Linked DNA regions of Homo sapiens: region 2 is linked to region 1. Evidence: promoter capture Hi-C in 16 types of primary human blood cells and fetal thymus (Javierre and others, 2016). All regions are on one chromosome and are shown on one strand. The core of a region is centred on a gene start or on the middle of the fragment in contact, and the rest is flanking DNA. Distances in the headings are between cores, read along the strand shown.

Region 1 (7,382 bases), core at 1,262-3,761:
TTGCTAAATCTCCTTTTATTCATGAATTATACATAACTCTTCCTTGCTCTCTGAATATGCGTGGTTCATGTATTTTCACTTGATGTTGACCAGTTTTTTTCTTTACCTTACGTATTGAGAAAGAAAGTCTCTGATTGTTTCCCACTTTTATTTTGTGAAGGATGTTTGTCAGTCTTTATGTCCATAGTAATTCGGTTCTTTCTGGATTGATCTAAGACTACAATATTCATGAAATCAGGAAGAATTACCAAAGTGTAACATAAAAGAATTCTTATATCTAGCACTACAAGAAATTAAGATGGATTGTAAAGGTGCAGAAGAACTGTAGTAAACCAGTGTGACAATGATGCAAGTTAACAACAAATAAGGCCAATACTTCCAGGTGTCATTATATTATCATCATTAATTATTTCGGTGAAGGATCGAATTAGTTATCTCTTACTCCCTAACAGATGAACAGAAACTAGGTAGCTTACTGATAGCCAAAGTAGTATTAATTAAAACAATAATAAATTATAATTGTAAATAATATATCATGATTTAAAATAATATATTAAGTATATTAATATGATTTGCTAGTACATCAGTTACATGAAATCTATCCAGAAAAATATTAATAAAGGAAATACTATGCACAGAAAAAGTAACTCACATTCTTTCCCCCATCACATCCTATTTTTTTGCCCTCTTCAGAGTCACTAACTTCTCTTATTTATACTTCCAGCCACTACAGTATGGTTTGTTCTGATTTATTTTACCATAATAACTCTCATAAGGTTGCCAGTGCCATCTATTTTCCCGAGGTAGTGGACAGTTTCAATGTATATCTTCTGTAAATCTACTGATAACTCTTTTAAGAATATTAATTTTCTTAAACTTTTTTTCCTAGTATTTTCTCCTGTTGTCCTTCTAATGTGTGGCCTTTCCATCTGTTTCTTTGTGGCTCTTCTCTTTCCTTTCTTAAGTGTGGAAGGTCCTCAGAATCACGTTTAAGCCATTTTCTCCCTCGACACTCTCTCCCCACATGAGATCCTCCATTTCTGGGCTTTCAGTTACTGCATATGAACCTCTAGCAATTGCATTCCTTATTAATTGCAAACTCATATATCCAACTGGTAGTGCACATTTTCACTTAGATGTCTACCAGTTAGCATATAGAGGATATCTCTGCGTTTATTTTTATTTCCTCACATGCCTTGGTCTACCTTCTGGTGAGATAAATTCATTGGTTCTTTCTTCTCATGATAGCATTAGACATAACTGATATTAAGTATGATTACTGTTTTTAGTTTTCTTTCCCAACAAAAAACAAAGATATGAGAGAGCGGGAATTGTATTTGTTATGTTCACCTGGATATCTTGAGGGCAACATACAACCTAATTTAGACAAAGTTCATTTTTACTTATAATTTGAATGTAATAAGCATGGATAAAGGAATTGTACCATCCATTCTTTAATCAGTTTGCACAATCAGGGTTGGAGTTCAATTTTAAAGAATAAATAAAGAATTTTTCTATAGTAAAAATTTAATAAACAAGGCAAAATAATAAATATAAAGAACATGTTTTTGTTACACAATTCACAATGTAAAAGTTCACATAATATAATATGAACAAAACTAATTTAAGCCCTATAGATAGTTAACTAAATAAAGATTTAAATAAATAGATGAATAGATCCATCAGCATGGTCATCTGTAAGGGACTAGTGCCCATACAGCTGAACAGGATGTTGCTTAACACTCCTGAAAACACTTGACACATTTGATTCAATTCATAGCATGGTTTTGGCAGAAACAAGGGTCTTTGAAAGAGCACAACTTGTCGAAGTGTGAGCTGCTGTATTAGTCTATAAGAATCATTTCCGTGTTGTACCAGGTCTCATTCCTTACTCTTCAATCTTTTTTGCAAGTTGATTGATAAAGAGAAGGATCTCATGATTTCTGCTCTGACAACCTCCCAGGCACAAGAGCTGTATTTCTTCTCTGTCAGATATAGAGTGATTCTTTGGAAGTATTTCCTCACAGCCAGGATGGAGTCCTCGTACATCAGGGGAGACTCTATCACCCCCACTTCCTGCATCACACAGGACTCCAGGTCATTCAGCTGCTGGTCAAGTTCGATGTAGAATTCATCTAGAAGGGTCTCATCCAAAGCAGCAGATGAGTCCTTTGTGCTGAAGAGGTTGAAGGTCTGCTGGATCATCTCATGGAGGACAGAGATGGCTTGAGCCTTCTGGAACTGTTTATCATCAAACTCCTCCTGGGGGAATTCAAAGTCATGTCTGTCCTTCAGGCAGGAGAAAGGAGAGATTCTTCGCATTTGTGCCAGGAGTATCAAGGCCCTCCTGTTACCCAGGCTGTGAGTCTGAGGCAGATCACAGCCCAGAGAGCTGAATGACTTGTAGCTGAGCACCACTAGGGCCACCAGTAAATAAAAAGTCAAGGCCATTGTAGATGTTGTGGATGCTGCTGAGCTGGTTCAGATGGATGACCCTTAACCTGGGTCTCTGAAGACTTTGGTTTGTACACCGCCTTATATAGGGAACATATTTGTTTCCATTTTCTGAATGCTACTGCATTTTTTTTTTCTACTTCTGTTTTTGCTTTCCTTTATGTACTCTCTACATGGGCTTAGGAAAGTGTTTCTCAACCAGTTTTCTTTTCATTACTGCATTCCCTTTCTCAACCTCCAGAGTCCTGTTTGATAATTTTTTTCTAAGTAAACCCCTCCTGATAATTTAATAACACAGATATATTATGCACATATTTGAATGTACTACATTCCTATCCATGCTTTAGAAAACAAAGTGGACAGTTTACTTTTTTATGCAATGCAGCATTAAGAATAAGTAAAAATTTTATGTCAAAAGTTAAATTTAAAAGCTATTGGCATTTAACTTTATAAAAGTTATTTGCTGAGTGACTTCTAGTATATATACTTATATAAATATTAATGAATCAAGTGAAACATGCAAAGTTATAATATATGAAAATATATAATACCAATATAATAAAAATACTTATATAAAATATGTAATATCAAAAAAATAAAAATACTTAAAAATCTCCCAAAACTGCTAAGGGGCTATTTAAAATTAAATTATTCCTGTAACATTTAATTTATTATACTTAACTTTTAGCTTTGCTTCATATAGAAAATGATTTTTACCTTCACTAACTGCTAGATTTTCATCCAGATATAGTCAACATATTTTTCTTTTCAGCACTTCCTATAAGTAGTGATGTTTGAAAAAGTTTTATACAATTTAATCATAAAATAAAAACATTTGTATAAAAGAGTATAATACACTTGAAAGCACTGAGGATCAAACATAAGCTACATACCCAAGACAGCCAATGGCAGCCCATTCATATGCCGATGGAGACCACATCACATGGTATGACTCTGAGATTGAGCACATAGTGGAAAGTCCACCAGTGACAACCATCTATTTCACATTGGTTTGCAACACTAATCTCACATACATTTTGTGTATCTTCCATGAACTCAATATCAGTCTTTTCATGTAATACATAAGAAAACCAAGTGAAAGAAAATAAACACTACAGGATAGGGTTGTCTTAGAGTTCTGCATTGAGGGGCCATAAACGAATATAATATCTACAATTTGTTCACACCACAAGAACTAAGGTTTGTGCCCTTAGGAGCAATATCATCCCCAATGAGAATACACAATTGAGAAAACATCAATTATATTTTTCAAAACAATTTTTGCATTAATGTTTAGATTTCCCAAAGAACCTGGGGACATCCCAATTCTAGTTCATTCTTATAAAATAAAAAAAGCCATCTGTTTCCTAAGGTAAATAATAATATCTAAGTATGATAAAGTAAATGAGGTGTGCAATTGTTGTACATAGCATGCAGGATACCAGATATCTTTCTCATTTCCTTTTTCACAGAAAGCAAAAGTTGTTGCTTTTTGTATCCCAATAAATGAGAGCAAAAAGAAAACAAATGTATAACTAAATGTGATAAAAACATAAGAATGGAAGTAACATCCCAAAGGAGAAAAACAACTAACAAAATATAACTTGGATATTCAGCCCAGATTAGATGGACATTAAGGGGTGAGGAAGAGCAGAAGCAAAATGGTGCAAGAGATGTAGAACAAAGGTAGCAAATGGGCAGGAGCTCAAAGAAAAGTAATCATTACTGGTCCAAGGGGATGTTTTCAGCTTTAGTGAATTCAGCCTTACTAGACAGTTGAGGGTGATGAACCAAACATAAGACACTGTGCACCAGAAAGGCAAATTTGTAAGAGCACAATATTCTGTCTGTAGAATGGACAAGTATAATTATCTCAAGTTCTCCACTAGTAGACAGATAAACTCAGAAGATCAGTATATTGCATGTTATCTGTTGTGATGGTTAACATTGAGTGTTATCCTGATTGAATTGAAGGATGCAAAGTGTTGTTCCTAGGTGTGTCTGTGAGGGTATTGCCAAAGGAGATTAAAATTTGAGTCAGTGAACTGCGAGAGGCAGACCCACACTCAGTCACTGTGGGCACCATCTAATCAGCTGCCAGCATGGCTAGAATTAAGTAGGGAGGAGAAGATGGAAGAGGAGACTTGCTGAGTATTCTGGCCTTCATCTTTCTGATGGATGCTTCCTGCCTTTGAAATCAGACTCCAAGTTCTTCAGCTTTTGAACTCTTGGACTTACACCAGTGATTTGGAAGGGGGTCTCAGGCCTTTGGCCACAGACTAAAGGCTGCACTGTTGACTTCTCTACTTGGGAGGTTTTGGGACACGGACTGATCCACCACTGGCTTCCTTGCTCCTCAACCTGCAGACAGCCTATGGTGGGACTTTACCTTGTGACCGTGTGAGTCAATTCTCCTTAATAAACTCCCTCTTATATATAAACATATCTTCTTAGTTCTGTCCCTCTGGAGAACTCTGACTAATATATCTATCTAACAAGAAGCCAGGGAATAGATGATCTCAAAGGAAACTTATCTTGACTTAAAAGGACAATAATGATAACACTAATAAGAAGAATAAAAAGTTGCTAAATTTTATCATGTTTGCTATCAATCAGATATTGTTCTTAGCACTTACAAAAACTATTTTCACTTCATTCAATGAGAAATACCCTCATTTTCATTTTTATTGAACATCTACTATATGCCCATCCCTACTTAGTTGCTAGAGATATCAGTGACCAAAGCAGACACTGACAGGTTGTACTGTTGTCCTTTTTTACAAAAGGAAAACCCAGAAGCACAGGGAGCTATTGAGTTGTGGAGCTACAGTTGGAACCCAAAACATCTGACTCTAAATCCTCATTTCTTACATGTTCCCTGGGAATTATTTCTGGCCATAAGACCCAGAGCTGGTTTCTAGACCCCGGTCAATGTTTTCTTAGTACAGTTCTACATAAAGAAGGTCACGGCCTTTCTTTTCAGCTCCTTCACCCTCTCCCTCACTGAAAAGCCCTATTTGTTTATGCCTGATATGTTACATTATAATAAAGATGGGCCCCAATTTATTTACATGTTATATACTAGTTTTGTTTTTTTGAGAATGTATATTCATAAACTTGAATGTAGTTGCAAAACTCTTTGTTCACCCTAGTAATATATCCATAAACAACTCCGTAAAAACCTGCATATTTCTATCCTTTTATTCAAATATCCGTAAGGCCTTAGATTTCTATCTTAGCCCAAGTTTAAGACTAAGCAATGACAAGCTAGAGACATGAGCTAAATCAGAACTAAACCAATGAACTAAGGCTCAGAGCTCAGGGAGACCACATCTAGAAGGGCTCACTAAAAGGATTAAAAGTGGGAATGGAAGGTCTTCTGGAGAAATGAGGAGAGTCCAGTGTATTATAGGAGGAGGACTGTGATACCAAAGTCTCTGAGTCACCTGACTTGCCAGCTGGTTGATGCCTTTTATGTTGCAGGCCAGCAGAGTTTGCTGCTGAGTTAATTTTACCACTTGTTTTGAGAAACCGGGCAAACATGATGGGCAATATATGGAGAGAACTAAAGAAATGGGGTTGGAAAAAAATAACGTGTTTGCATAGGTGGAAAGATACTTGCTAAAAACAGGCCTAGAATTGGAGCAAACTATGCCTTTACTCCTTCCGTTTGGCCTTCCATTTTTTTAAGTGTGTCTTAAATAATGTGATAATTATGTCGCCTTATCCAGTGATTTTTTAAGATTCTCCTTGTACAAAAAATAGATGAATGACCATTTGCTTCTTGTTATCTCCATCCATTTTCCATGTGATAGTGAGGTCCATTTCTGTTTGATTTCCAAAATTTGGCATGTAATATTCAAAGTGCTACTTCAGGTGAAAAAACCGTGATTTTGGATTTTGAGTCCTTGGTCAGATGTTTTTGCCTGGTAGTGTTCTTATTCTCCCTTAGGCATGGTTATAATTTTCTCTTTTTTTGCTGTCTGAGATGTTGCCTTTAGTGATCTGACCTATTTTCTCTTTAGAATATTTTATCAGGACTCCATAAGATACTTATGGGCAGACACGTCATCTTATCTAGTCTTTTTCCCTGGCATCTTGGCCCAGTCCCTATCATTTCAGGAGCTCAGCCAATATTCATGAAAAAGAGTAATCACTATAAAACCAGTGGAAAGAATATTACCAATACATATTAGATACATAATTTGAAAGGAAAATACATCAAAAGATAATTTGTAAATTCTTCAAGGTTCTTCATTGGAAGTTATCATTGAAAATTATGTGGAATATTCAAAGAAAGAACAGCCACTTGCTTGTAGAATCATTTTCAAGTTTGTATTTTTAATAATTAGAATATCTGAATGAGAAAAAATGACTTGGACAAATGGAAAATTCCCTCTCCACTTTTCTTTCAGTGGTCTTCAAGTACCTGCAGAGATACCTGTCATAGTTTCCTTGTCTCCTCAGACAATAAGGAAACAATTTCAATTTTACAATGTGTTCCAAGGCCTTATCCCATACTCTTGGTCTTTTTTCAACTTTAGCCAATGGCTTTGGGAACCAGTTTAACCCTTTCTTTCAAAGAGTCAATGATGCCATAAACTCTAATAAATGACATCTGTGTCCACTTCCCTGCGTTTGAATTGTGAAATCAGATTTTGGAAGAGAGTTTTTAATAGAATATGTGAGCAAAAACATTGGTTGTTTTTCCTCCAAAAATAGCATTTGTACAAATATTATAAAAATGAAGATTAATCTTATTCAAAGAACTTGCCTTCTTTTCCTACTAGTCACCCAATTGGACTCCCTTTCACAACTTCTTTGCATCTTGGTATCCTGTGAGAATAAATCCAGGCCAAGTTAATTTGGTTGGAAGAGATTCTTGCCCTGTAACATCTTGGCAAGATGTGTATCTTGCCCTGTAACGT
Region 2 (7,382 bases), core at 1,038-3,537, 390 kb before region 1:
GGCGGCAAGGGACGCACGGGCCGGGCGCATGGCCCCCGGAGGCGCGGTCCCCCGGCGCGGGGGCGAGAAGGCATCCGGCAGGGCGAACCGCTGCGGCTGGGAGGGCTCATCTCACCTTCACGGCGGTGGTGGTGGTGCCAGAGGCCATGTCTGCACGGGAAAGGAATCTGCAGTGGGCGAGCGCTCGGGACTAAGGGAACCAAGCGAGCCACAGAGCGGTGGCTGTGCCAACCTCACTGCGCGGGAGTGAGCAGTGCGGAGACCAGGGGCGGGCCTTGACTCCTCCTCTTCCTCCCCGGGACAGCTGGATTGGCTGCTTGTGTGGGATCTCCCCCGCCACCCCTTCCCCAAATCGAAGTTCCCGCGTTCCGCCCCTTTTGCAGACCTTTCCGGTTCTCCAGGTTTTTGTCGTTTTTTTTTTTTTTTTATCCCCAGTTATAACTAACGGATAATGATAATAATGGAGACCATTTATAGAGCGCTGTATTGTTCCAGACTGTGTGTTTTGCACTTTAATTGGCTTACTTAACTTTCGCTAAAACCTTATAAGGAAGAGCAGCACTCCCTGCTTGGCCCAATATTAGTGGCGTCGGAGGCCTCAGCTGCAAAATCTGGCCCGGCGGCATTCCAGAAGTTCTCGCGGGAGGGAGAATCCTCACCAAGGCGGGTACTGGCCGGCCACGGAGATTCTCTTAGGCAGCTAACGCGGGGCGGCCGCCGCGGCGGGGGCAAGATTTGTCCTTCCTGCGGCTGCGAACCCACCGCGGGTTTGCGTATTTCCCTTGATTCCTGGAGGACAGAGCTGGGATGGACTTGACCCAAGACTCAGGGATGACGAAAGGGAAATAAACAGAGTAACGTAGTACTGGATAATCTTTCTGATTTACGAACTATGATTTACTCATCTTCAATTTGAGGGGCCGCTTTTAGGGGGTTGAGACCTTGCACAACTCCCAGTCTGGCTCTACCTGGCTGGGGGCATCTTTAACCCGTTCTACGCCGGAGCGGCATCGAATACACCTGGATTCAGAATCCAAACTCAGGTCTCCGTCATTCAACACTAGCAGGACGCACACACACACACACCACGAGCCCTTTACAGGGATAATCCCTCATGCTTACAGCCCCCGTCCCTTCCCTACTGGGGTAATCCAATTTAACCTTCCTTGATGGATTAAGCGTTCTGAAACAAAATAATGGGTGGCAAGGATCTTAAGGGTGGACTCTGAGATGTAGAAATGCTGCAAATTAGCCTGGACGTGGGAGGAGGGCCGAGAAAGGGGATGCTTTCCTCTTTCCTTACAGCAGCAAAACACGGAAACAAAACACAAGTACAATTTAATTCAAAATACCACTGTGTGATGTTAGCCTGGATGCTGCTCATAGAACCTATTTACTTAAACAGTATAGACTTTCGTCCTCACATTACTATAAGCTTTAGGTCTAAATTTTCTCACAATGTAAAGTTTTCTTTCTTCTGTTACAATCATCTATTTCTTTTAAGTTATAAAATGCAATGGCAAAAGAAGAATGAAAGTAGAATCCGGGTGCTCCTTTGAGGAATAGGAGACAGGGAATCCTTCGCGGATGAAGACAATGTAGCTTTCTAGGGGCCTTTCTGCCGATTGCTCTATTGAGGAGCAGGAAGCCCACCACTCAGAAGTGAACCATTGAGGGCACAGGGATGCCCTAGGCTTTATGGCCGCTACCTAAGTAGGGGATCCTAGCCAACTTAAGTGACTTGATATGGTTAACAAGTCCAGTTTCTACTCAGCACTGCCTCTCTGCTAAAAGTTAGACGTTGTAACCAAGTTAGATCCTGTAAGCATAAAATACCCCTAGGCATAGGAGTTGGAAACTTGGCGAGGACCAGGCTGGACTTCTGGACTTTTCTACTATAACTTGCAGGTTAGGGCTCAAGCATTTGCTCTTGAAGATGTGATGTCTGTGAAGAGGAAATTCTTCTAAAGTTTGAATTTCATGTAAACTTACATGTGACAAAATATTATTCTACTTTTGATATTTTCTCAACCACTTAAGATTGTAAAAAAGCATTCTCAGTTCAAAGCTGTACAAAAACAGGTGGAGAGCTGGGTTTGGTCGAGGTCTTGGGCCATTGTTTTCCGCTCAGGGTAGTGCCTGAATCAGACGACCCCTTGCTACCCAGACTTGGATAACCCTTGGGCAGTCCTGTGGGACAGTGCTTTCTTTAGTGCAGTATCTTTGAAAAGGTAGGCAGTAATATTTTTGCCTTATTTCCAAATTTTGGGTCATGTTTTTTCTTAACAAGCCCTAAAATAAAAGGAAGACAAAATTTTCAATAATTTTGAATACGCAAAAATTTTCAGTGGTCTCCCTTTTTGATTACTATGTCAACAAGACAAGGAGAGTCGGTCTATTTGTGAACATAGATTTTGCCCTGCCCTTCTGTTCTTATCCTATAAATCCCCCTCTGTTAACCTGTACCCTTGCTTTTCTAAAGATAATTATCAAGAACTAGGTCACCTTACAACAATTCTGATTATGAAACAGTATAAGGATTCCAACAGCTTCTCCCTTTTTGATAATCTCTCATAAATGTCTTCCCAACTTCTAGGTCCTAGCCAACAAAGTACTGAAATGGTTATCACCAGTAGCTGACTATGTTGGGTCTTGAGCAGTGGTTCTTCAGTGTCCTACAGTTCCCTTTTACTAAACATGTTATTTTTGAAGTCGTCTCCAAACCATTCCAGAATCATCAAATCTTCAGGAGGAAGTATTCACACAAATGCATGAAATGTATCACCTCAGCCAACCATATCAGCTTTCCCACTGAATTGTTATATTTCTGCCCCTGACCAGTATGTCTGTCCTGGATGGGTACTACAAAATGGGCCCAAGCTGGCTGGTAACCCATCCTCATCTGAAGGTATTAAAGCTGGCAAGTTGTCATGGCCTAAGAAACTCACATAACTCCCCACTACCTTGTAGATATTTGGGCCAAAATAAAAATTCTAAATAACATGGAGGTGTGCTTAGAGATCCCCAATGGTGTGTGAATCACATCTTTTTACAATACACCTGTATCACAGCCACAATGAGTAGGGACATTTTGGCCACTACTTTTGACAATGGATTAGATTCCCACATTGGAAGCTTTGTGAAAAAGCTAAAGTTCTATTAGCAAGCAGCCACTCTAGATTTAGCAGAACATTGTTGAAAAAATATCTGGGGGAACAATAAGTAAACTAATTATAATAATGACAGTAATACATTTTAAAAATTATTGCATCTTCAGATTCTCAGCCAGGCAAGCCTATGCCAGCATGAAGAAGCCAAAGATGTCTGAACTGGTATAAATTCAGGTTCAAAATCCACAACATCATCGTTGTGCACAGTGTGGTCATTGGGAAGAAAAAAGTTAAACTCAGAGACTCAATGCCCTTAATAAAATTGTATCCAAAGAAACTTCTCCACAGGCAATTATCAGAATAATCAACTTCTCTTTATCCTGCCCAAGAAGGAAAAAAAATGTACTGAAAAGAAAATAGTGGCTAGTGTTTATTAAGAAGCAAAAGATATGCAAGTATGTACCAGGCCAGTCCTAAGGTACCCTTCTGAAAAAACATTGAATATAATTGGATAAATGTATAAGAGATTTGTCTGCAATCCAAGTTCTCTTAACACTCTTGATTGTAAATAACTGAACAAATTATTGATCTAAAAAATACAGCTATGTGTCTTTACCCTGACTCTGCAGTATAGACCATGATACAACATAAACATTAACATTTTAGTAACTAGAGACTTAGATATTTTTGTCATAGAAGGCCTAATTGAACCTTTCTAAATTTCTTATAGGTTAGTATGTGACTATTACTCTAAAACTTTAAGGAAATAAGAACAAAAAACAAAGAGAAGTGTTCCATTCTCCCATTATCATAGTGATAAAACAAAATAAGTAGTATGTCACAAGTGAAGAAAATATTACTGAAATCTAATATTAAAAATGCATTTATTGCAGGTACTTTATAGAGGGAATTGCAAGTGATATACTAGGTTTCTCAAAAAATATTTACATCACATTTTAGGTGGCAATTCCTTATAATGACCTTTAATGAAAGTGGAGAGTCCAGTTATAAAGTGTAACCTGGCATCTGTGTTTTTGGTTGAGGGAAGAACCCCATGCTTTAAAATGAGTTAAGTAGGGTCAGTTTTGACAGTCTGCTTTAAAGTTGGTATGCTCCAGATAGTTGGAATTAGCCATATGTTTCTTGTTGCAATAGAATCAAGTTCTCCTTCAGTTTTCTTTATTCGTTCCTTCTATTCAAAGTCCCTTTTACCCTAGAAATATCCTTCATTGCAAATCACCTTGTCTTGTCTTCAAAGTTCACTTCAAATTGTATCTCCCCTATCATTTCTGAAACTCTACTGAAGATGACTTAAGTTGCATATAATTTGGATTTTTTGAAGTAAAATCTCACCATTTTTTCACTTTTCTTAGATTAATGCTGCACATTAAAAGCATATTCAGGTTAACAGAATGGCCATCTACCCTGGACTCCCAGGATCTTCACATACCTATTATAAATAATAATAGGTATTATTATTTCTGTTATAGGATAAGCAAAGTGTAAGATTAAGCCCTGAACCCTATACCTCCCTCAGTGAAAGAGAGAGTATGTTCAATCTTGATCTGAAGAGACATGATTCTCAGCTTCTGTGCTTTGTATAGAAAAGGGCCAAAAAGTAATAGATACCCAGATGTATTTTAATATCACAGATGCAACATAATCTCTGCTTAGCGTGTCAGGATCTAAAGCTATGATGAAAGACCCATATAATGAGCTCTTATGTGACCCACTGCTCTTTATTCCACTTTAAAAACTTAAGGCAGGAAATAAGTCTAAAAGCATTGCTTTTCTTCTCTGGCAAATCCATATGTTGTCTGTACATACAATCCTAAAAACAAATTGGGAACAAAGTCATATTTGTCTTCTGAGCATCTTCAAGAGCAACAACAAAACAGCTAATATTTATTAAGAGCCACATATTCTTCATTTAATCCTCACAGATATTAATGTCATTGCTATTAATGTAATTTCCATTTTACAGAGGAGGAGAGAGAGAGAAGTTGAATTGCTGTAACTTCATCTTTTCTGCTTATTTGCCTCTCCCCAAAGCTTCCTTGTCCGTTTGGAATCTTCAGGACTTCCCTCTCTCTAGCCCATCAAAATGTCAATCAAACCTATCAAACCTGTTAAGTTGCCAAAATCACCTTAAAATGTTACCTCACCCAGGGGTTTATGAATTTTACAGGTATTAAGCCTTAAATTGAGATAATTAAATTCTAGGTAGGATGTGATGTTTGAGAAAGGACAAGTGTTGGTGTTATTATCACTATCATTGCATGAGGAACATGAGGCTCAGAGCATTTAAGAAGTCTTCTCAAATTTATATAACTAAAGTAATTGAGATTCAGTCCTGAATCTGTCCTAATTGCAAAGTCTAAACTCTTGATTAATTATTATTTTTTCCACTGTTGAGATTCAGATAACAACACCCCAAAAAGGAAGTCCTCAGAAGCAGCCTCAAAAGCGAAAGTTTTTCTCTGACCTTCTCCTGCCTGTCTTTCACGCCCATTATCCCCCTGATGCTACCATAGAAACTAGAATCCTTCTTCCCCAAGGTGGATAATAGAAACCAGAAGATCTTTTCCCTAAAGCCAGCCGTAAAACCTAAACATATTTCTCTAACCTTCCCTCTGCCTTTCTGTGTGAAGGGTAAGAACCAAAAGATATGCGAATATGGCCATGAAGAAATTGTCTGACCTATCTTGTTTGACTGTGGGTTATAATACCCCCATTCCAGAGAGAGACCTGACTCATACCCATAAGGAAGGAATCCTACACAGAGAGGCCAAGAAGAATCTAGACAGACAGCTTTGCTGGGTTTCCCCACTCAGTCTGTTAGCAGTATGTCATGCCCTTTTTGTCCAATCATATTTCTACATGGCTGTCCATACTTTGTTGAACCTGTGGAATATAAATCATTAAGCCAAGGGAAAAAATGACTAAGCCAAGGGAAAAGTCAAGCCGGGAACTATGTTAGACAAACCTGCTTCCCGTTTTATTCCTGGAAGAGATAGCTACAAATATAAGAAGCTACATACCTCCCTCACAATTTGCCCAAGGAAATTCCTTGTGGACGAAAGACAGACAGAACTCAAAGTAATCCCTCTGAGGCTCACCTGAGACAAATGCATATCTGATTGCTTTCTCTGCCCTATTGTTTATGTAAAAATGCAGATTCACTGAACCAGACTAAATTGTGTATGCAGTGGAAGGCCGATCGTGGACCTGAGGCTGTGTCACCGATGCATCCTTAACATTGGGCAAAATTATCTTTCGAAAGTGACTGAGACCTGTCTCAGATATTTTGGGTTAACAAAGCTAATCATAAAAATGGAAAATTTTCCCTGGATCTTTGGGTCTTCATTCTGAAGGCTCCCATGTGTTCACATGAAATAAATTTGTATGCCCTGTCTCCAACGGGAAAGTTTCTCTACACCATCATGTTCTGGTCCTTAAACTTAGTGCTAAGAGGGAAAGATGTATGATCTATATAGTCTCTGAGCCCTTAAGAAACTCCTGATCTGGTGAGAAGAGTCAGAAAGAGAAGTCAAATATTATAAAACAATGTGATAAGGGTAAATTTAGATACTGTGAAAACACAGAGCTGGGCATCTTTTAGAGTTTTCCTGGAGAAAGTGAGTCTTAAGGGATGAGCTAAGAAATTAGAGAGGTGAGGGGTGTGTGTGTGTTGTTAGCGGGGAAGTTGGGTATGAAGGAAATTGAAGTGCAGGAGACAGTCATTTAGATAATGAATCATGTGGTCCATTAATACTAAGAAAAAATAAATTCGATTAGATTTGATTAAGAAGTTGTTAATGACCTTTATCCTGAGCAAAAACAAAAATTTGTTTCAGAGCCAGAAAAATAGGATGAAGGAAATGCCAAAGACAATGAGATGCCATTAAAATGACTTTGCTATTAGAAGGTGGTCTCTTCCATCTGGCTCCACCATCCTCTGATCATCCCTGTGACTTTAGAGTTGTGACCTCTTGGAAACATTAAAAGCAACCCATGATGATGGTGGTGGTAACTTCTATCTACCCAAATCAGGCAATAAAGAAAGTGAGAAAGAATTAATCACAAAATCACTTTGATGGTGTAAACTTGAAGTCCCTGGTTGATGCAACAGTTATAAAAAACCTCAGAGGTCCCCCTGCAACACAGATGGAATCACTGAGGAAGCAGATCGCTCTCAGGACCTATGTCTGGTCTCACTCACATCTCTGACCTATATAGCCATATTGTGAGCATAAACACTTGACCCACAAA

What was found. The method cuts DNA at HindIII sites, captures the fragments that hold promoters and counts their contacts. A CHiCAGO score of 5 or more calls a contact.
Region 2: a contact is called between a fragment that was not itself captured here and the fragment with the promoter of IFNA8 in region 1, in 1 of 17 cell types (naive CD8 T cells). The highest score is 6.1, in naive CD8 T cells.

What each region holds. Positions count from the first base shown.
Region 1 is chr9:21,404,246-21,411,627 of GRCh38, reverse strand. IFNA8 (interferon alpha 8) reads right to left here and starts at 2,511. Exons shown (of 1, transcript NM_002170.4): 1 at 1,443-2,511. The coding sequence starts at 2,451. The coding sequence ends at 1,882. The HindIII fragment of the contact is 19,531 bases long and covers 1-7,382 here.
Region 2 is chr9:21,795,515-21,802,896 of GRCh38, reverse strand. MTAP (methylthioadenosine phosphorylase) reads right to left here and starts at 261. Exons shown (of 8, transcript NM_002451.4): 1 at 116-261. The coding sequence starts at 148. RefSeq lists a silencer at 1-78 and enhancers at 123-751, 752-1,382. The HindIII fragment of the contact is 1,700 bases long and covers 1,438-3,137 here.